Regions from separate parts of the Homo sapiens genome. Here regions 2, 3, 4, 5, 6 and 7 are each linked to region 1. Evidence: promoter capture Hi-C in 16 types of primary human blood cells and fetal thymus (Javierre and others, 2016). All regions are on one chromosome and are shown on one strand. The core of a region is centred on a gene start or on the middle of the fragment in contact, and the rest is flanking DNA. Distances in the headings are between cores, read along the strand shown.

The links. The method cuts DNA at HindIII sites, captures the fragments that hold promoters and counts their contacts. A CHiCAGO score of 5 or more calls a contact.
Region 2: a fragment that was not itself captured here is called in contact with the fragment with the promoter of CCNG1 in region 1 in 9 of 17 cell types (activated CD4 T cells, M0 macrophages, naive CD8 T cells and 6 more); the score reaches 21.8 in activated CD4 T cells.
Region 3: a fragment that was not itself captured here is called in contact with the fragment with the promoter of CCNG1 in region 1 in 16 of 17 cell types (activated CD4 T cells, naive CD8 T cells, non-activated CD4 T cells and 13 more); the score reaches 32.3 in activated CD4 T cells.
Region 4: a fragment that was not itself captured here is called in contact with the fragment with the promoter of CCNG1 in region 1 in 15 of 17 cell types (non-activated CD4 T cells, total CD4 T cells, total CD8 T cells and 12 more); the score reaches 30.9 in non-activated CD4 T cells.
Region 5: a contact is called between a fragment that was not itself captured here and the fragment with the promoter of CCNG1 in region 1, in 1 of 17 cell types (M0 macrophages). The highest score is 6.2, in M0 macrophages.
Region 6: a fragment that was not itself captured here is called in contact with the fragment with the promoter of CCNG1 in region 1 in 1 of 17 cell types (M1 macrophages); the score reaches 9.1 in M1 macrophages.
Region 7: a fragment that was not itself captured here is called in contact with the fragment with the promoter of CCNG1 in region 1 in 1 of 17 cell types (M0 macrophages); the score reaches 6.1 in M0 macrophages.

What each region holds. Positions count from the first base shown.
Region 1 is chr5:163,436,159-163,439,259 of GRCh38, reverse strand. It overlaps CCNG1 (cyclin G1), which reads right to left and starts at 1,665. Exons shown (of 7, transcript NM_004060.4): 1 at 1,456-1,665; 2 at 1-3. The coding sequence starts at 3. It also overlaps a transcript of LOC105377700 not described here. RefSeq lists enhancers at 1,101-1,300, 992-1,569, 2,011-2,060 and a silencer at 1,741-1,820. The HindIII fragment of the contact is 4,161 bases long and covers 1-2,930 here.
Region 2 is chr5:160,451,669-160,454,769 of GRCh38, reverse strand. No RefSeq gene overlaps it. Among named protein-coding and RNA genes, the nearest start is that of MIR3142HG, 15 kb to the left of the region's middle. The HindIII fragment of the contact is 7,393 bases long and covers 1-3,101 here.
Region 3 is chr5:160,476,471-160,479,571 of GRCh38, reverse strand. The region is part of intron 1 of MIR3142HG (MIR3142 host gene); the gene reads right to left. Among named protein-coding and RNA genes, the nearest start is that of MIR3142, 3.6 kb to the right of the region's middle. RefSeq lists enhancers at 1,656-1,950, 1,535-2,083. The HindIII fragment of the contact is 574 bases long and covers 1,395-1,968 here.
Region 4 is chr5:160,501,248-160,504,348 of GRCh38, reverse strand. No RefSeq gene overlaps it. Among named protein-coding and RNA genes, the nearest start is that of MIR146A, 17 kb to the right of the region's middle. The HindIII fragment of the contact is 5,828 bases long and covers 1-3,101 here.
Region 5 is chr5:160,664,497-160,667,597 of GRCh38, reverse strand. The region is part of intron 7 of ATP10B (ATPase phospholipid transporting 10B (putative)); the gene reads left to right. Among named protein-coding and RNA genes, the nearest start is that of MIR146A, 180 kb to the right of the region's middle. The HindIII fragment of the contact is 971 bases long and covers 1,044-2,014 here.
Region 6 is chr5:160,685,790-160,688,890 of GRCh38, reverse strand. It overlaps ATP10B (ATPase phospholipid transporting 10B (putative)), which reads left to right. Exons shown (of 26, transcript NM_025153.3): 4 at 1-131; 5 at 797-1,091; 6 at 2,618-2,812. The coding sequence starts at 817. Among named protein-coding and RNA genes, the nearest start is that of ATP10B, 160 kb to the left of the region's middle. The HindIII fragment of the contact is 3,336 bases long and covers 1-3,101 here.
Region 7 is chr5:160,757,472-160,760,572 of GRCh38, reverse strand. All of the region lies in intron 2 of ATP10B (ATPase phospholipid transporting 10B (putative)), which reads left to right. Among named protein-coding and RNA genes, the nearest start is that of ATP10B, 93 kb to the left of the region's middle. The HindIII fragment of the contact is 5,998 bases long and covers 1-3,101 here.

The sequences.
Region 1 (3,101 bases), core at 416-2,915:
CATCTATATATAGAAAAAAAGACCAGCAAGGAGTGTAAGAGTAGTCCTTCCTGCTTTCCTTGGCCATCTTTGCACTGGGCCAAGAAATGATTTATAAGCCTCCCATCCCCCAATGCGGCTAGTGCATCTAAGTCATTGCAAAGTGCCATCTGTTATTTATTTCCCTTCTACAAGTTGGTCACATCCTAAATTGAGTTCCTAGAGGGAAGGAACCATGCTTTTTTTTTTTTTTTTTGAGAAGGAGTCTCGCTCTGTTGCCAGGCTGGAGTACAGTGGCACGATCTTGGCTCACTGCAACCTCCGACTCCCTGGTTCAAGCGATTCTCCTGCCTCAGCCTCCCGAGGAGCTGGGATTACAGGCATGCGCCACCGCGCCCAGCTAATTTTTATATTTTTAGTAGAGACGGGGTTTCACCATGTTGGCCAGGATGGTCTCGGTCTCCTGGCCTTGTGATCTGCCCGCCTCGGCCTTCCAAAGTGCCGGGATTACAGGCGTGAGCCACCGCGCCCGGTCGGAACCATGCTTTTTAGAAAAATAAAATGCAAATCTTCAAGAAATACTTGTTCAAGTTATTCACTGTCAATAGATAACCACGAATAAACACCGTAAGACAGGATACCGAAAGTGAAAAGCAGATGGTAGTTAAGTATTCTGCCACATATTAACAAAATGAACTGTTCAAGTTACTTAATTGTACTTAGTTCCACATTGATAAAGTAGGGATAAGGTTTATGACCTACCTCACAGATTTGTGAGTTAAAATGAAATCACGTAAAGAGCTTAGCACATACAGTAGACGCTTAAAAAACACTGAACAATAATAATGAGCTTGAGCTTCTTTCTAGATTTATAAAATGAGGGTAACAATATCTGTCGCTGAATGTGAAGACTGAACAAGATGATTCACCACTTAAAGAGTATAGCACAGTGCTTGGCACACAATACTCAATATTACTTAACTTTTATTGTTGTTAGGAAAGGAAACTTAAAAGGTGACATTAGGAGCACGTATTGGGGCGGGGGGGTGCGGTGGGTTGTTGCTAACCTAGTCTGAAAGATGAACCTGGGAATTCCATTGATTTAAGTGTGCATAACACAACCATGTCCCGGGCACAAGCTAAGCCCTGGATACATGGAAGGTCCCTCCCACACCAACTAAAGACAGGAAGGCAGGAGGTCTTCAGAGCTAGTCATGTGAGGAACCTCTAACTGCAGGGGTTCCATTCTTCCTCCCCAGGCTAGTCCCTGGGACTGGGTCGGCAGACACGAAAGGCACCTCAGGAGGCCGGATCCGGCTCCGCCCCTCCAGCCTCGGACTAGCCTGGGCTTGTGCTCACAACAGCGGTAGAGTTTAGTGTGGAAAAGGGCGCGGGCCAGACCTACTCCTCGCCCCGCGCCCCCAACCCAGCTCCCCACCCGCACCTGGCGGTCAACTCCCGCGCAGTCCCACTCACCTTGACAGAGACTGCAGCTCCTCAGCGGTAACCACCCTCCCCGGGCCTGCTCACCTCACCCCACGATATCAGATCCGAGAGGCCTACGAGGAGAGGGGACTCGTAGGCAAGAGGAGAGAGGCCCGGGGAGGGGGACTGTCCTGGGTGGAGGCCTCGGCAGCGCCGCCGAGACAACTCGGCCCTGATCAGGGTCAGCTCGGAGCCGAAGGGGCCGCGCCTGCCCTAACGAGGAATATATTGGAGGGCGGGGCTTTCTCGCGAGAAGGGGGCATTTTCGCCGCTGATTGGTGTAATTCTTTTGATGGATGGCCTCCGCGATCCGTAAACGGCTGGGCCGTGGAGTGAGAAGTCCGGCCAATCGGCTCACACTTCCCGTTATCTGGCCTCAAATTCCCCGGCCCCCTTCCACGCCCCTACCTCTAAGCGTCTCTCATTGGAGAATTTAACAAAGTGTCTTCATTCAGTAGGGGGCCAAACTAAATACTCGGTGCAGCAACCCTCGCCTGGGTCAGGTCAATCGGCTGCCAGCCGGATTGGCCGGCGTATCATTCCAGAATGTACTGTTTGTTCTGTGGGGTTTAGGAGTTCTACAGTGGTTCTGCCCCATCTTTCTAAAAATACAGTGAGTAGTTAAAAAAAAAAAAGTCAACCTTTGATTTTTAATTACAGATAAAGAGGTGGTGGAATTTATATGGTTTGGTGGTTTATCAACTTCCAGAGTGCTCTCTTCGTGAACTTTGGAAGTCAGTTGATTCTTGCCTTAGTTTGCTTTTTATACAATTTATCAAATAATGGAGTTGGACTGTGTAATTTCTTGACCCTCTACCAATTTTCTGAATTTGCTTTTAAAGCAAATTTAAAGAGAAAAGTTGGTACAATTTTTCAGTTGCTTAAAATGAAAGGTATGTGGCAGACTGTTAACAGGAATAATTGTGGTGAGTGTGAATCTCAGTCTACAGACCCGAGTGTAAAGCAGTATTACTCTTTGTATTTACCATAATGAATTTAATCTCTGTGAGCCTCTCCTATGCCAGATTAGTGGGAAAATAATTAGCCTGAACTCTTCTTAGACTCTCCTCACTCTCACTCTCCCAGATCATCACAAGTGAGAAAAGTCCATTTGTAAAAGGGCCTGAAAAAGGGTGCACAAGGAGTCATTTCTAAACTCTTATGAATTACACAGTAGTTGGATGTCTCTGTTCTCATGGCCCCAGTTCGGTCTCTCTTACTTTGAAAAAGTGAAAATCTGAAAGATTTGCCGTCACTCTGCTATTTGCCCTGCCGTGTACTTACCCAAGGCAATGCCACAGAACAAAACTCTGGAAAGGGGGAAAAGGGGTGGGGAGGAAGGGGAAGGAAAAACAGGAGAAAACATCAATACCTCACAATAATACCTTAGCCACATAATCAGGTCAGTTTAAGAAACTGGGGCTCAAATGGGGAAGAGGCCTTTGTTCCTTTTGAAAATAAAAGCTTACCTAGTGAATATAAATTGGCAATTTATAACCTTTAACAAGTGATTTTATTTAAAAATACTTTTTGCTGTAATGTGTGAGTTTATAAATGTAGTTTCTCCTTTTGGCTTTTAGTTCCTATTATTCCTAATTCCTAAAATTAGGAATGTATATGCACAATTTTTAAAAAAA
Region 2 (3,101 bases), core at 397-2,896, 3.0 Mb after region 1:
GTTGTCCAGGCTGAAGTGCAATGGCACGATCTCGGCTCAACCTCTTCCTCCAGGGTTCAAGCAATTCTCCTGCCTCAGCCTCCCAAGTAGCTGGGATTACAGGCGTCTGATACTACGCCCGGCTAATTTTGTATTTTCAGTAGAAACGGGGTCTCTCCCTATTGGTCAGGCTGGTCTCGAACTGCTGACTTCGATCCACCTGCCTCGGCCTTCCAAAGTGCTGCTCATGAGCCACCATGCCCAGCACCTCTGTTTCTTTATCCTCAGAATAAGGGTATTCAAAGAGCCCCCTCTTCCCACCCCCATAGAGCTATTATGAAGAATAAAAGAGATAAAGCAGGTGAAATGCTCATCCCTGGTTCTTAGTAAATGGGAACAAGTATGACAAGTGTGAGCCAACGTTATGACAGGTATTGTCCTCTATTTGAACTCTACTTGCTTTCTCAAAATCAGGAACCTCTTCGTTTTTGATAACTCACCATTCCTCCCTATCTAAACATGCTATCTGAACACAGGAACAAATTAGATTCGGAGAATTAAAATGCTTAGAAGAGGAGTCTGAGCTAAGCCTTGAAAGATAAGTAAAACTTCAATAGGCAGGGGGAGCAGGGGGGCGGAAAGAAGGGAAAACAGGACTTCCTTGCTAAGGAAGCAACATGAATTAAGAGAATGCAGCAGTAAATATGTCAAAGGAATGGCCAAGAACCCGGAATGGGTACCTCCATCATGGGAGACCAGTGGGGTAATCTTGGTAAAGTTTTAAATCCTGTGATGAGGAGCTTTTAGAACAAAGTAGATGCTGAAGGTTGAGGAACAATGGAATTTCTTGACCCAACAAGGAAGTGAGGAGGGCAACAAAAGTGAGAATGGAAATGAGAAAGAACCTAAGTTACCCTAAGATGTGGACTATCTAGGGTTTGGTGACCAGTTGGATGTTTAGCTAGAGAAGGTAAGGAATAAGTTAAAGACCAACTCCAGACTTCCAGTTAATGCAATAAATCTGAGTTTTCCCTGACAGGTGGAGGTGGAAATGGGGGTACAAGTGGGTTTGTGTCATGTTACCAAACACAGTTTACTCTTTTATTTTTAATTTGCAACCTGTCAGAAGCCCTGAGCCTGCTTCTCTTTCATTCATGCAATAAATATTTATTGAGCACCTATTGTGTATCAACTGCTGTGTTATAAGCCAGAAATACAGCAGTGAAGAAAACACAGTCCTTGATCTCACAGACCATAAAATCGACTTGGGAGTCCAGGCAGGTGAATGGACAATCACAGTCATGCTCAGACAGGAGAATTCATGGGATACTGGGATTTCAAGTAGGAGCACCTACCCCAAGTTTGGGTTTCCTTGGAAACATAGGAAGTTATTTCAAAGCTGAGCACAGAAACGGAAGTAGGATTTAAGAAGGCAAAGACCGGAAAGAATGTTTTTTCAAGCAGAGAAAACAGCAAGTATGATGGCCCTTGAGAGGTGGAGGAGCTACAGAGGTAGAATTTGGCTGGATGGAGGATGGGAGATGAGGAGTGGGCTGAAGTGGGACCAGATCACCACATAAGGTGTTTGAATTTCATGCCAAGGAGTCACTCTCCGGATATTTCTCAGTGCCAATGTGAGGTAGCAGCCACCCTTGCCCTTACAGCTCCAGTGTGCACACTTAGAAGGATGGCCTCTAGGCACATGTGCCTGGAAGCCTCCCCCGAAAGCCTGTGCAGAAGCACGAGGCAAGCCAATGAAGCAGAGCCAAGTTTTGATTTGAAAACGATGACTTTGCTTTTGTATCAGATTTCTAAATCGAGGTTTTTTATTTCAGCCCCACCAATGTCATGTGCACTGAGTTCCTTCTTTCACCCCCTCTTAAAAAAAGAAAAAAAAAGAAACCCTTGTGCAAATATCCATATGAAAGTAGATATACGTGTATGACAAAGTGGGTCATTCTTAAGTACAGAACCTTATCTGTAGACTTTTCCCATCCTTCCATTTGCCAATCATAATAGCTCCCAAGTTTCAGTTCTTAAAACCCTTGTCTCACCCTTAGGACACAGTAAGAGCCAGTTTAATTTTGATGTTGGTTCTGATGCTTGTAAATGTTATGTAACTTGTCCAAGGTCATCTAGCAATTTCTAGGTTTATAAGGGCAAAATAGCTTGGTTTGCTGTTTCACTACTTACTTATCCCACTCTCTTCCTCTCCATTTATTTTCTCTTTCCTTTCCTACTCTCAGTTGCAAATAATAAAGACTTGTGGGCTTGCCTTAAGCAATGGAGATGGGGGAGAATGTGCTATGGAAGTAATAAGGCGTATATATAGGGGAACCCAAGACCCTCAGTGGGGCATCAGTAGGAACAGAAACATCCCAGAGGTCAGTCTTGGAGATGCTGGCCCTCAATCCAAGGAGGCCCCAAGGAAAAGTAGCAGGAGGTCCTTGCCCTTGAGTGTCTGCCTTGAGTCTCTGTGATTCAGCTGTTTTCAGGGAGTTTCAGTCTCCCTCCTCTCTAGATAGGGCCCTGGGCTATCTAAAGGACATTATCAGGGTAACTGGTGATATCAGACTGAAGATTAGACAATAGTATTGTTAAATTTCCTGAATTTGATCACCATATTTTGATTGTGTAAGAGAATAGCCTTAGCCTTATCCTCAGGAAATATATACTAGAGGATTTAGGAATAAAAGGGCTTGATATGTGCAAACTACTTTCAGATAGTTTACAAAAATGTATATGGTGTGTGTGTGTGTGTGTGTGTGTGTGTGTGTGTGTAATGAGACAGAGAGAAGCAAATGTGGCAAAATGTTTACAGTTGGTGAATCTGGTTTAAAAGTATTCAGAAGTTCTTATTCTTGCATCTCTCTCTCTCTCTCTCTCTCTCTCTCCCCCCACCCCTTCGCCCGCCCCCACATATATATACAAGAGAGTGTCTCACTATGTTGCCCAGGCTTGGGTGCAGTAGCCTGATCCTAGCTCACTGCAGCTTCAAATTCCTGGGCAAGCAATCCTCCCACCTCACATTCCCAAGTAGCTGGGACTACAGGCATGCAGCACCACGCTAATCTTTTCTATTTTTTTGTAGAGATGGGATCTTGCTCTGTTGCCCAGGCTGG
Region 3 (3,101 bases), core at 432-2,931, 3.0 Mb after region 1:
TTGACCATTCGGCCCCACTGTCTGGCTCTTGGAGACATAAACAAAAATGGTTTCTTCCCTAAAGGAATTCAAAGACTAGATAAGGTGGCAAGGTATACAGATGAAAAATAAGTAACTGCAGAATGCTAGATAAACATGTACTCAGCCTGGCCTTCACAAGAGAGGCCAGCAGCTGGTAGAAAGGAGAACTTTCATTCGATCCCTCTGTAGGTCCTGCAAGCTCTGCCTTCACAGTACACGTAGAATCTAACTGTTTACCCTCACCCAAGCCACCATCAGCTCCCACCTAGGAGATCTGCAACAGTGAGGTCTCCTGATTCCACTCCTGCCTCTGCAGTCCACCCTCCAAATAGCAGTCAGAGGGATCTTATTAAAAGATAACTCAGAAGTAGGAGTTGAACAATGAGAACACATGGACACAGGGAGGGGAACATCACATACTGGGGCCTGTCAGAGGGTGGGGGGAAGGGGAGGGAGAGCATTAGGACAAATACCTCATGCATGTGGGGCTTAAAACCTAGACGACAGATTACTGGGTGCAGCAAACCACCATGGCACATGCATACCTATGTAACAAACCTGCACCATCTGTACGTGTATCCCAGAACTTAAAGTATTTAAAAAAAAAAAAAAGAGGCCAGGCACAGTGGCTCACGCCTGTAATCCCAGCACTCTGGGAAACCCAGTCAGGCAGATCATCTGAAGTCAGGAGTTCAAGACCAGCCTGGCCAACATGGTGAAACCCTGTCTCTACAAAAATACAAAAATTAGCTGGGCATGATGGAGGGTGCCTATAATCCCAGCTACTCGGGAGGCTGAGGCAGGAAGAATTGCTTGATCCTGGGAGGCGGAGGTTGCAGTGAGCCGAGATCATGCCATTGCACTCCAGCCTGGGAGACAGAGCAAGACTCTGTCTCAAAAAAAAAAAAGGAGAGATAAATCAAATCATGTCACTCCCCTGCATAAAGCTCTCCAGCAACTTTACATCACACAGAGAACAAAACCCAAACCCCTCAGCATGGCCTACAAGGCCCATGTCATCTGGCCCCTGCCTCTACCTCCAATCGCATTTTCTACCATCCTTCCCTCATCCATCCACTCCTGCCCACCTGGCCTCCTTGCTGTTCTTAATTGCACCAAGCTGTTACCTTTTCCTGGAATGCTCTTTCCCAAAATATTTCTACTGTTCACCTGTCACTTCTTCCAGACTCTTCTCAAACCTCACCTCATCAGAGTCCATCCCTCACCCACTCTACCTAAAGGAAACACAGACATGCCCCACCCATCCCCCAAACGTTCCAGCCCCTTGCCTGCTTTTCTGCCTCATACAATTTATTATTAGTTTACAGTTACTTATTTGTTTACTGTCTTTCTGCCTGGTAAGAGTGAAAGCTTCATGGGAGTAGGCCCTTTAACCAGAAGAATGCCTGGCACAGAGTAGGTCAGTTTCTCAATCTTTTTTTCATTATCATCCTTCTAAGGAACCTTTTCAGACTTTTTTTTTTCTAATCCCCCCACTATGAAATGTTAACACTACAGATATATTATATGTCTATATATACTGTATGTATATTTGTGCTTTACACATAGAGTTTTTTTTCACCTCCTAAGGGCCAATTTTCGTGCTCTTTGAGGGGAGGCATATCTTCCCCATGGAATAGGTGCTTGATAAAAATGTGTTGAATGGATAAAACTCCTGAGGAGAGCAGCAAGCTCTGAAAGATGGACATTGTTCAAGGTATAAAGTTCAGCTGGGGAAATTCCAAGCCTCCCCCCACTCAACCCTCCCATCTTTGTAGCATGAGTACATCCTGTCATGCTGTGTCTGGTGACTATCCGGTATTTTTCTAATGCAGATTTTCAGCTTTAAAACAAAACAAAACCCTACTCTTGTTTTGCATCCTGGCTCCCACTGCTATTTTGGATCCTTGAATTCACTTTTTCTCCACCTTCCTCCCCAGGCAAGCTTTAAAACCCAGATAAGGCCCGCTCCATTCGTACACAGTTTATTCTTTCCTTCATCCTACAACCTGCACTGAGTTCCTATGTGAACCAGATGAAAAGATGATGATGATTCAATCCCTGCCCTCTGGAAGCTCATGAGGATGTGAGGGTAGACAAACAGGATGCTAAGTTCAACACACCAAGGGCTCCAGGAGGAGCAACAAAGTGCTTCGAAAGGACAACTGCACTGACCCAGTGGAACCTCTCCTTGCTCATCCATTCACCCATCACTGACTTACAGAGCACCTGCTGCATGTGTCGGGCCTGTGCTAGATCCTGGGGTTGCAGCACAGACAAGACCAGCATGGTCCATGGAGATCACAAAACAGGAGAGACTGAAATCTCACTGATAATCACACAGATAAGTGAGCCCAAATGTGATAAATGCGACCAGTGGAAAAGCTCAAGATTCTATGAAGCACCTGGTAGTTGGAAAGAAATGACATTTAAGGAGAAACCCTGAAGAATAAGTAGAGCATGGTCTGGCAAAGACCAGGTAAAAGGGAGTTCCAGGCACAGGGAACAGAATGTCCAAATGGTCACAAATAGGATGTGACCAGGCACACTTGTGAGGACGGAGAGAGACTCCTCTACTGAGGTCAATAACGAGACTAGGGATGGCATGAGGAGAGGAAGGTCCAGAAAGGCAAGAGCCGATTCATGTTGGCCTTGCTGAGAAATATGGAGTTGACCTTAACTAAAGACAGAGGAAACACAGAAGGAATGTGATCCAGGCTGTATTTTTTAGATATTTTGGTTGGGTGTGGAAAACAGCTGGGAGGAGGGTAAAAAATCATCCCACACATCTGTCATCCAATCACGCAATTTAACATGTGATCCTGCAGGGTCTTGCACCCATAGGTGCAAGTCCTGTGAGACTGTGAAATTCTCAAAGGTAGATATCACATTTTCCGCCTCTTTTTACCCCGTCCCACAACAGCAGTGCATGGTACATGGTAGACAATTAGAAAACACTTCTTGAGTAATTATTTTATAATAACAAATTCTATGTTTTTATTATGATTAACCACTCCTTCTCTCTGCCCTCTGAAAGTTCCCCTCCCGTCCTCAGTCATCTTCCCATCCTCTGCCTGACT
Region 4 (3,101 bases), core at 338-2,837, 2.9 Mb after region 1:
CCTTACACCCCACACACATACACCATACACACACATGCGCACAGACACACCCCTCACACCCCAAACACATATACACCACACACACACACCTGGATCAGGGACAGGAGCAGGAAGGGGCCTTTTGTAGAAACAGTCCCCTGGGATACACACACACACACACACACACACACACACCCACACTAGGCTTGTGTATGCATGAAACAGCTCCTGAAAGATGCACAGGATCTGTCAACAGGAAGGGACCAAAGAACTGGAGATGAGGGGGATAGGAAGGAGGTTTATTTTTCACTGCACACCTTCTTGCAGAATTTTACTTATGTGCTTATATTGCCTTTTCAAAAAATAAATTCTGTCCCCCTTTCTAGAACACACGTACAGAACCTGTCCCTTGTCCGGTCCACGTGAAGTTAGGAAAACTAAGTCCTAGTTTTATCCTGCCAGCAATAGTGAAGCAGTATGATGTCATAATGAGTCTTAAATATCCTTTGCTTCAGTTTCTGAGGCTGTAAAATGGGGTTAATAATATCTATTCTACCCTCCTTAGAGGCACTTTAGAAGTTCATTGAGATAAAACAACAATAGCAATGATAATAGTTTAAATATATTGAGTGCTTAACATGTACTGGGCACAGTGCTATTGTCTCAATCCGAAAACAATCCACTAAGGTAGCAACTAATGTGAGTCTCATCTTAAGAGACAAGGAAAATAAGGCAGAGAAAAGCAACTTGCTCAAGGTCATGCAACTATATATCATAAACTAAAAGTAAAATTCAAAGCCCCCCCCTTCCCCACCAACTGACTGAATGGACCATCTCTTGGCCAAGGGGATCCCAGAGTAAACTTGAAGACTGAGTTCTCAGCCATGACAGGATAGGAGACTCAGATACACATCATTATACCCCCTCCCTCATTAACCATCATTAGCCTTTCTTCCCTAAGGGCTTAACAGAAAGTAGCCCTTTCAGACTTCATGACCAAGGACCCAAAAGCAAATGCAACAAAAACAAAAATAAATAGATAGGACTTAATTAATCTAAAGAGCTTCTGCAAAGCAAAAGAAATAATCAGCAGAGCTAACAGACAACCCACAGAGTGCGAGAAAATCTTCGCAATCTATACATCTTACAAAGGACTAATAGCCAGAATCTACAAAGAACTCTGATATGGTTTGGCTGTATACCCACCCAAATCTCAACTTGAATTGTATCTCCCAGAATTCCCCCGCGTTGTGGGAGCGACCCAGGGAAAGGTAATTGAATCATGGGAGCCAGTCTTTCCCATGCTATTCTCATGATAGTGAATAAGTCTCATGAGATCTGATGGGTTTATCAGGGGTTTCCACTTTTGCTTCTTCCTCATTTTTCTCTTGCTGCCACCATGTAAGAAGTGCCTTTCACCTCCTGCCATGATTCTGATGCCTCCCCAGCCATGTGGAACTTTAAGATCAATTAAACCTCTTTCCTCCCAGTCTCAGGTATGTCTTTATCAGCAGCGTGAAAACAGACTGATACAAACTCAAACAAATTAACAAGAAAAAAACAAACAATCCCATTAAAAAGTGGGCTAAGGACATGAATAGACAATTCTCAAAAAAAGATATACAAATGGCCAAGAAGCATATGGAAAAATGCTCAACATCACTAATGATCAGGGCAATGTAAATCAAAACCACAGTGAGATACCACCTCACTCTTGCAAGAATGGCCATAATCAAAAAATCAGAAAAATAATAGATGTTAGTGTGGATGCGGTGAAAAGGGAACATTTTTACACTGTTGGTGGGAATGTAAACTATGTACAACCACTATGGAAAATAGTGTGGAGATTCCTTAAAGAACCAAAAGTAGATCTACCTTCTGATCCAGCAATCTCACTACTGGGTATCTACCCAGAGGAAAAGAAGTCATTATATGAAAAAGATACTCGCACACACATGTTTATAGCAGCACAATTTGCAATTGCAAAAATATGGAACCAGCCCAAATGCCCATCAACAAACAAGAAATGGACAAAGAAAATATGGTGTGTGTGTGTATATATATATATACACACACACTCAAACAGCCACACACACACACACCATGGAATACAACTCAGCCATAAAAGGGAATGAAATAATGGCACTTGCAGCAACCTGGATGAAGTGAAGTAACTCAGGAATGGAAAACCAAACATTGTCGTTCCCACTCATATATGGGAGCTAAGCTATGAGAACAACAAAAGGCATAAGAATGATACATTGGACTTTGGGGACTCGGGGAAAGGGTGGGGTGGCGAGGGATAAAAGACTACACATTGGGTACAGGGTACACTGCTTGGTGATGGGTGCACCAAAATCTGACAAATCACCACTAAAGAACTCATTCACGTAACCAAACACCACCTGTTCCCCAAAAACCTATTGAAAATAAAAAAATAAATTTAAAAATATTTTAAAAAGAAAACAGCCCTTTCAAAAGACTCCACCACTGGTATCAGTCTACCGCCTAATGCTGCCTCTCCTTTTTTGCCCGATAAGAGACCACCGACCACAGGGTGGTTCTGGCCAATCTACAAAGAATGCACAGTAAGGGTGTTCCTGTCTACTTCACCTTTTGATGTCAAAGGGCCAAAAACTCCACCCTTAGATCATGCTAACACCGTCATTTTTTGTACATGGGACACAAGCAGGGGGATGAAGCTCAATTGCACGTGTGCATATTTCTCCTTCATAAATATTCATGATTCCTCTGATAGCTTATTGAATATGTATATTCGACCACTCTGCTCAGCATAAATTTCTATTCCATTTGCCCCACCCTCAGAGTATCTGTTTTGGGCTTCTGACCAGAGGCTATGCTTCCCACCCTGTCAGAATGGCAACCCTGCAGGCTGCAATCCTTTATGAGAAATAAAGCTCTCCTTTCCAAATTTATGAACCTCCTCATTCTTCAGTTGATGATATCCAGCCTTCTGTTTCTACCGCTCACACTTTTACCCACCGAATGCAATATATAGGTTTGAAATTAGTATTCATTACTCTAGATGCAGCTTCCTGTCCTGAGATGTTTGGGTTGATCATCAGATTTCCTCCACCTGTTTCCCCATATTGGAATTTCTA
Region 5 (3,101 bases), core at 280-2,779, 2.8 Mb after region 1:
AAAGAGAGAGAGGTAAATTCCTATGTGAAAGGAAGATTATTTGAGCTTGAAGCTTTCCAGGGTTCTCTACTCTGTCTCAGTTCTTGATTCTCCCCCTCACTTTGCTCAAGAGTGTTTTTTTCATTTTAGTAATAATAATAGACTTTTATTGATTCCATACTAAGGGCTTTGCATGATTATCTCGTCTATCCTCAAAACAACCCAATGAGATGGGCACTATTATTGTCTCCATTTTATACAAAACGAAACTGGGGCATACAGAGGTCCTGTAACTTGCCCAAGGTCACTGAGCCGGGAAGTGTTGAAGCAGGATTCAAAGCCAGGTTTGTCCAGAGCCTCAGTTTTTTGTTTTGTTTTGTTTTGTTTTTTGTTTTTGTTTTGAGACAGAGTCTTGCTCTGTCGCCCAAGCTGGAGTGCAGTGGCACGATCTCTGCTCACTGCAAGCTCCGCCTCCCGGGTTCACGCCATTCTCCTGCCTCAGCCTCCCGAGTAGCTGGGACTACAGGTGCCGGCCACCACGCCCGGCTAATTTTTTGTATTTTTAGTAGAGACGAGGTTTCACCGTGTTAGCCAGGATGGTCTCGATTTCCTGACCTCATGATCCGCCTGCCTCAGCCTCCCAAAATGCTGGAATTACAGGCGTGAGCCACTGTGCCCGGTCCCAGAGCCTCAGTTTTTAAGGCTCAGTACTTCATCTCCCTGGCCCTTTAACTGTTACCTTGCGTTCACACAGAGATGCTTACTTGAAAGCACACATTTATTGTTGCCAGGATTCTTTCCACATAGAGATAGAGGGTGGCAGGGATAATGAAAGTGGGCTCAGCCTGCTCCCTGGAGGGAGACATCTTGGCTGCTCTTTGCGACCTTGCTTCTCCCTTATACTTTTAGGGCAGAAAGATTTCTGAGTATGGATAGAACTCGCTTCTGGCTAACTCGGTACCATAGGATTTCCCTAACGTATTGAACAAACATGTTGATGAGAGTTGCAAGAAAAATAAATGTTGCAAGGCCAAGTAATATGAGAAGACAATAGATTACAAGCTTTCAAATATGTGTTCTGCAGAATTTCTCTGATACTTTAATAAGCCCCAAGGAGAAGGACAGGTGCTATTATGTAGTATTTCTAAATATTTAAGCACAAGAAACTTTTATCCCAAGAAACACATCTCAGAACTACTGTAGGAGGGGTGGGCTACCACTAAGGGATTTGCTGCAAGTATATTACAGGTGTTGAAGGTGTATCATAATCATCACACGGGAAGTTTTTAACAATATATATGCATCCTTCTGTATCACCACCAGTAAATTATGACTCACTAGGACTGAGTAGGGACTTGAGTGTGCATATTTTTAAAAATTTTCTCCCAGACAATCTCGATATAAACCTACCACCACCTCCTTGAAAACCTGTACAACCAAGGAGAGGCGCCATCTCCAGTGCTTCCAGAAACACTTATCCTAATAATGGGGAGAAAACTACCATCTAGGTACTTTTTACTATATACTAGTTCTTTTACATGCATTGTCTATTTTAAGCCTAAGATCACCATGGGAGGTGGGCATTACTATCCCTATTTTACACATGAAACCTCTGAGGCACTGAAAGAGCAAATCTCACTAATCATCTCAGAGATTTTGAACACCTACAAATATGGTTTGTTTGGAAATTTAATATCTTACATAATAAGTATTAATGGCTCTTGATAGTTTATTCTCCCTCTAAGTCCCTACTGTCTTTGAGACCTTCACCTTGCCAAAAGGGTTTTTACTAACCACAGAGATTACTAGGAACATCTAACCCCACATATATACCCACACTCATTTTTACCATCTTCTGGATGATGAGAATTACTATATTCGGGTAATTCAAAGTCAGTAAGACATACTTTGTCCCAGCTCACATAGATCTGCATTTCTCACAGTCTGCTAAGCACTTGTCCCAAGAGACAGTTCTTGAAAAACTCATGGTCCGTGGTCAAGTCAGATTACAGTTTACAAGTCAAATTAAGAAGCTTTTGTCCTGTGAACCCCTCTTGCAGGTTCCAATGTTCATTAACATATTAACGTCTCTGAGAAAGCCTGGAGTCAATAGGCCTGTTAAACTTTCTTTAGCCCTGAGCTCTCCAAATTTATTTAACCTAAGAATTATTTTTCAGCACAAATATTATTAACATTCCTATGGACCTTTTCAGAAAATATTAGCCTGAATTGTGGTACAGACATGGTCACAACAGGTGAAGGGTAACAAAGAAGTTGACAATCCTCATGGCTTAAGCAGTTCATTCTTCCTTTTCCTGTTTAGGTTCAAATGAAATTATAAACATTAAAGAACTTCTTAAAAGGGTCTTTCTCCCATGACATTGCAGATTATCCTCAAGGCTGCCAAAGAGTTAGTTTCAAATCCTTTCCTCAGAATTCTTCTTGGACTAAATCTACTTTTTTTTTCATTGGAACTTTTATCCCAATGGGCCATCTTTGAATTTATAAAATTATTGACCTATTTTTGAGAGATTCACTCTCACTTCCCATTGTTAAAAAAAGAGGGGAAAGGGAAGGAATTAGGATTTGCTAAAAACCTGTCCAGCTGGCAAGAGGACTTTATTAGAGAATTCAAACGTACAGTTTTCTCTTTGGTGACATTCTGATACCTGAAACCTCTTCTGTAAAAGAGTTTTAACCTAGGAATTTAACACCTGGAAAGGAGTATATAGCATTCATTTTGATAAATGTAACAGTTATCTAAGCCAAAGAATCAGAAATGAATGCTTCCAGTTAGTGTTTCAGATCAAACATGTCCCTGGCTATCTATTTTCCAAATCACTGAAGCCTAAGTCCCACTGAAGCATGGGTCAGATCATTCCCCAGGGCCAAGTGGGAACTTGCTATGCCAAGTATGATCTGCGGACTAGCCACTTCAGTAAGCATCACTGAGAGCTTGTCAGAAATGCAGAATCTCAGGCCCCATCCCAGACTGAACCAGAATCTGCATTTTAACAGGATCCTCAGGTGATTCATGTGTACATGAAAGTTTGAAAGACACTGGCCTAGAGCATCAATAATCAACGTAATAATCATATGTATCTGTTTGTTGCTCAGGTTAA
Region 6 (3,101 bases), core at 292-2,791, 2.8 Mb after region 1:
AGCCATCTAGATTAAGAAAAGCCAGCTGACTGGACAGTAGCACAGCCCAGTCACCTCATGGACAAATTTCCTAGGAAAGAACCTCTCCCATCTATTCTACTTATCACTCTCCTTTGAGGTTCCGGCCACAGGTGAGTTTCTGGAAAATGTCATCAGAATCAGAAAATGTTAGCGCCAAAGAAAACCTAAAGAATAGGTACCTTTTCCTTTGTTTTAAGATGTGTCCCAATATATTTTTCTGTACTATCCAATTTGTTCCTCACAAAAATCTTGTGGAATAAGTATAGAAAGAATAGTGTTCCTGATTTCACAGTGAGGAAGCTGGAGATCAGTTGAAGGTGAAGGAACAGCTCCCCACTAGGACTGAACCAGAGCTAGTCTTCTGACCTGCAGGGTCATAGCCCAGCAAGCCACACTTTAGCTATCCCTGACAGCCCCAATTAGGCCAAAAGCACGTCCCACCCACTTCAATGCTCCCATGGCACGTATTCCAGTGTTAGGAGCATGTTATTTATGTGATTATTTGTTTAGTGTGTCACCCTAGAACATAGGGATTCTAACCTCAGATACTCAATCTTAAACAAAATCCTTATGACTCTAATGTCAGAAATCCTATCTTTAGGAACAACAGGGAAGCAAATGGTCAGGATCTAGTGACCTTTAGTTACAAGGAAGTAGGTCAAAGTGTGGGTTAAGACTACTTTCAGTGTCTACCCTGCATGGATGGGGGAGAAATGAACAGGCCAACATGCTGCACGTTTCTCCTAAACATAGCTCCTCCTGTGTCTGTTTTCAGATCTTCGCCTGCTGCTGGAAATGGCCCTCTCAGTGGACTCATCGTGGCATCGGTGGCAGTGGAGAGTCAGAGATGGCTTCCCCCATTGTCCATCGGAAACCACACCGCTGCTCTCTCCAGAGAAAGGGAGACAGAGCTACAACTTGACACAGCAGCGGGTCGTGTTCCCCAACAACAGCATATTCCATCAAGATTGGGAAGAGGTCTCCAGGAGATACCCTGGCAACAGAACCTGCACAACCAAATACACCCTCTTCACCTTCCTGCCCCGGAATCTCTTTGAGCAATTTCATAGGTAGAGATCCACTTGTCTGAACAATACTCTTTTTAGAGAAAGAGTCTCATTCTGTTCCCCAGGCTGGAGTATAGTCGTGCAATCTCGGCTCACTGCAACCTTCACCTCCTGGGTTCAAGGGAATCTCCCACCTCAGCCTCCCAAATAGCTGGGACCACAGGCGTGCACCACCATGCCCGGCAAATTTTTGTACTTTTATGTAGATATGGGGTTTTGCCACGTTGCCCAAGCTGGTCTCTAACTCCTGGGCTCCAGTGATCCGCCTGCCTCAACCTCCCAAAGAGATGGGATTACAGGAGTGAGCCACCACACCCGGCCACCAATACATATTTTAAACAAGTATTTACCACTTAGATAAACTCAGAGATGCTACCCTCTGGGGGCCACCTTTCCTTTAATATCCAAATGCATTTGTCTTAAGAAGTTTTTTCATTCATTCTTTCATTCAACAAATATTTGTCAGGTTCTATGCTGTCTCAGGCCATAAGCTGGGAGCTAGAGATACATAAAAAAAATGGAGAGGCAGAGAGATACTGTCCTTATTGAATATATTGTCTAGTAAAAGAGACAGACATTAGTTTTTTAATTATATAAATTGATATAAAGTTGTAACTACAATAGATACTTCTAAGGAGAGGTATATGGTGCTATTATAGTGAATAATAAGGAAATCTTGGCCTAGTTAAGAAAGTCAGGGAATTGAAGTACAACATGAAAGAGAGACTGCATTACCTGAGTGAAAAGGGATGGACAGAAGTCAGCAGAATGTTCCTGCAGACAGACCTGTACATGCAAAGGCACTGTGGCAAGAGAGAGCAAGATGCACGTGGAAAACTTGAAAACATCAGCAACTCTTTTGAGATAATGTATGAGATCATTTTAAATTAAAAGTTAAAATATGTGCTTATATATCACCCTCAATATTGTAATTATTATTATAAGTGACCATTTACTGAGCAACTGCTATGCTCCAGAGCCCTCTGCTGTATATCATGCAAATATTATAAATCATGTAATATTTATGGGACCCCTTTAAAGTCCATAATACTATCCCCATTTTGTGCAAGAGGAAATAAGCTCAAAAAAATCACACAACGAGTAAATAACAGGAACAGAATTTAAATCTAGATGGTTTTCCATTCCTGAGAATAATCATCTCCAGTCTCATCCATAAGCATGACAAAACAAACTTTGGGGACTTAGGGGGAAAGGGTGAGAAGGGGAGAGGAATAAAAGACTACAAATTGGGTGCAGAGTATACTGCTCGGGTGATGGATGCACCAAAATCTCACAAATCACCACTAAAGAACTTACTCATGTAACCAAACACCACCTGTTCCCCAATAATCTATGGAAATAATAAATACATCTAGATGGGTTTGGCTTCAAATCCATTACCATAATGTTTGAGGTGATACTGAAAGAGAAGGTTTAATTGATCAAGGCCAAACAGTAGGGAAGAAATGGGGGAGAAAGTACATTTTTCTTCTCCATAGTGTTTATTCACACTTCGCTTGCCCCTCCAGATGGGCTAACCTCTATTTCCTGTTCCTGGTGATTTTGAACTGGATGCCCTCCATGGAAGTCTTCCACAGAGAAATCACCATGTTACCATTGGCCATTGTCCTGTTCGTCATCATGATCAAGGATGGCATGGAGGACTTCAAGAGACACCGCTTTGATAAAGCAATAAACTGCTCCAACATTCGAATTTATGAAAGGTAAGAAAAACCATCCCTGTGTTCTCTCTTGCAAATGGGTTAGGCAAACTCATCAGCATAGCCTCAGGATGAGTCTCTTTTCTTCGATTTTATTTTCCTAAATTATTTAATTCACTGATTCTCAAGGGGGGGTGATTTCGACCCCTAGTGGGCATTTAGTAATGTCTGAAGACATTTTTGGTTGTCATACTGGGAGTAGGGGGTACTACTGACATCTAGTGGGTAAAATCCGGGGGTTCTGCTAAATAGCCTACGATACACAGGACACCACCGGGGAACAATTATTAAC
Region 7 (3,101 bases), core at 278-2,777, 2.7 Mb after region 1:
TTTTGTTTTTCTTTTAATGACCTTAATTGGAAAAGTAAAAAATTTGGCAATCCTAATTCAGCTGCCAAAATTTCTTAGAAAATTTTACTGTAGCATATAATCCAAAAGAACGGGGAACTTTGGTTTAGAAAGCAGAAATCCCTTGTTTTGCCAACTGGGACATTAGGAGCAATCGCAGTGCCTTTTATTCATGAGTATTGTGTATGCAGACTATACAGGAAGCAAGGTCTTAAGGAAAAAAAGAATTCTAGCCTGCTTGGTTATTGCTTATTTCAAAATGCAAGCACACAATTTAAAATCCGGTCACACCTCCTTTTGCTGAGCTACAAGCCTGCTATTACAAGTGTTTGTAAAGTGCCTGTTAGCAGTTAATAAGTAAAGGTGTTGGCTTATATTCTGAGGGTATCAAGGTGCTCAGACAGCCTAATTTGCCTATTATAGGATGAAATTTGATCCCTCTCTTGATGTTCAGATTTGGGGAGCCATATTCCAAAACTCTTGGTACTTTCCTCCATTGCGTAAAGACACAATTCTAAGAACATTTGTGAAATGTAAAAGACAGAGTCCAAGACCCTGTAAGCATGGCCTACACGTTGCCTCTGCGGTAATGGCTGCGGTGGAAGTGCTGGGTCTTGGAATTACTCCACTATTCCTATTGACAAGCAAATTCTGGAGCACAGCCAGAGTGGAAATAAAGGATGAGTTACTATATTGAAACAGGAAATAGAATTTAAGAAAATAGGTACAAAATTCAGATTTTTCTCTCTGGAGGAAGATGTTTCCGAAAAGAAAATAATTAGCCTTTGGTGAGGTTGGAATGTAAGGAATGAAAAGTTTGCATGAGGAAGGTGAAAAGGCATGCTTGGAGGGAGCACAGAAAAGAGCAGACCTATGGATATTCCTTGGGGTATAGACATATTGACAGTTCCTATACAGCCTATTGCCATAGGTGTCTATAAAACATTAAGCTCTGATATGTGGAAAGACCAGATTTAGAAAGGCCTCAGCTATTCACTCATGCCTTCCTGAGTTCAGTAAAACACATGGAGAAATAACAATCTTAAAAAAAATTGTTCATTTATTTTCTTTTTGTGCATTCAGTGTATGATAATTATAGACACATCATTTATGAATGACAAAACTATTCTCTGATTATCTGGGTTAAAGCCTTGGAATAAGTTATCGTGTTTACCTGTGTTTCCTTCATGATACAAACTAAGGACTAAATTGTTATTCAAAATGTCAATCGTCATTCCAGAAGAGGCTTTGAAAAAATTATAATCTAGATAGATCCACCAGACAGATACCAGCCAGGACTTTTCTTATGAAGCATACAAAATATTTAATGGTGTCTGTGCCTAGAATTGGATTCAAGTCAGATAATAAGGCAAATTCAGAGAAAATGATTAGAATCTGAAAGGGCCCAGAAAGACAAATCTAACCTCTTTTCCAGATTCTTAAATCATAATTTTTTATGACTCAAAAAAAGCTCTAATGATCATATAATATTTTTTTGTGGATTGTGTTTCTGAGTTTATTATTATTTTGAAGTTACTGAGTCTGAGACCCTAAAAAGCCCAAATCCAGCTCTGCTAATCATCCTACTGCATTGTGGGTTTCCCAAGAAAATCATGTACCATGGCAGACAGTGAAAAAGGATGGACAGTGTTACATTATTGATAGCTGTGAAAATGCTTCAAAGCTCTGATAAAAAGGTTGGGTTGATTCACAAGGTTTACTGAGACCTAAATTATTCTTCTTACCTGCCCTGTCTCTCTTTCTCTACTCTCCATCTAAATCTTGACTCCCATGTTCCAAAACATGACCCTGCAGGACAGGAGGAATAACCAGGCCCCAAAAGGGACCCAAGTCTACTCACCCATCTGTGGGCATGGAGTCAGAAAAGAGAGAGGTTAGCAGTCTCCCCAAGTGGCCTGGCTGCCTACATCTGTTTATCACAGAGACTGGAAGACAGAGTACGGGAAAGAGGCTGGAGCTTTTCAGGATACAATGATCTTGACCCCTAGTTCCCTCCATGTCAATGTTTTGATCAGTCAGATAAGCATCTTCTCTTCTCCTGTAAAGGAACCAAGAGGACAGTGAACAGAGATGAAAGCCTTCTGATATAGGGATGTATTTCTGAAGTGCATGTTTCGGCCTCTATAATAATAATATCTGCCATGTATCAAGTATGTAGTATGTGCTACATGCTGTTCAGAGGGCTGTATGTGTGTTACCTCATTTCATCTTCACAGGAACCTGTAGTGTTGGCATTGTTATATACTCAAGTTACAGATTAAAAAAAACAACACAAGCTCAGAAAGGTCAAGTTTCACCTCCTTCAGCTATCTACCCAGTGTTTAAATACCCGCTGTGATGGATAGTCACATTGGCTACTGTTGGCTTATAAAAATAGAAAATTCACTTTCACCACTACTCCCACCCTAGATAGCTTAATTCTACTATTGGTAATTCTGATCATGATTAATTTCCCCCTGCTATTAAAAATGTTGACTCCCTATAGCCTATTACACTGACTACTATTTGTATCTTCTATAATGGTGGTTCTCAACCAGGGTGATTTTACCCCTAGTAGACATTTGACAATGTCTGGAGACATTTTTGGTTGCCACACTTGGGAGTCGGGGTGCTACTGGCATCTCATGGGTAGAGGCCAGAATGCTGCTAACCACCCTACAATGCACAGGACAGTTCCCTGCAACAAAGCCTTATCCAGCCTAAAATGCGAATAGTTCTAAGATTGGGAAATCCTGTTCTGCAGCCACACAAGACAAATTGGATTACATTCTGCATTAGCCCTTAGATGTCTCAAGAAAACAATAATGATACATCTAACACCTCCACCATATATATCCCCCCATCCATACCACACTGACTCTCCAGTCTTCCTATGCTTATCTGTTTAAAATTCCATTTTAAAAAAAGGCTCAGAAGACTAAGTGAACTACCCAAGTGAAAAACAAAGCCAGCCCTAGATCTGAGATTACTTAGCTCCAATTTCAATTATCTTCTAATTATATCATGTCTAATCTTTCAATCTATTCACTGGGAATAAAAGTGAATAATATAGACAATATCTC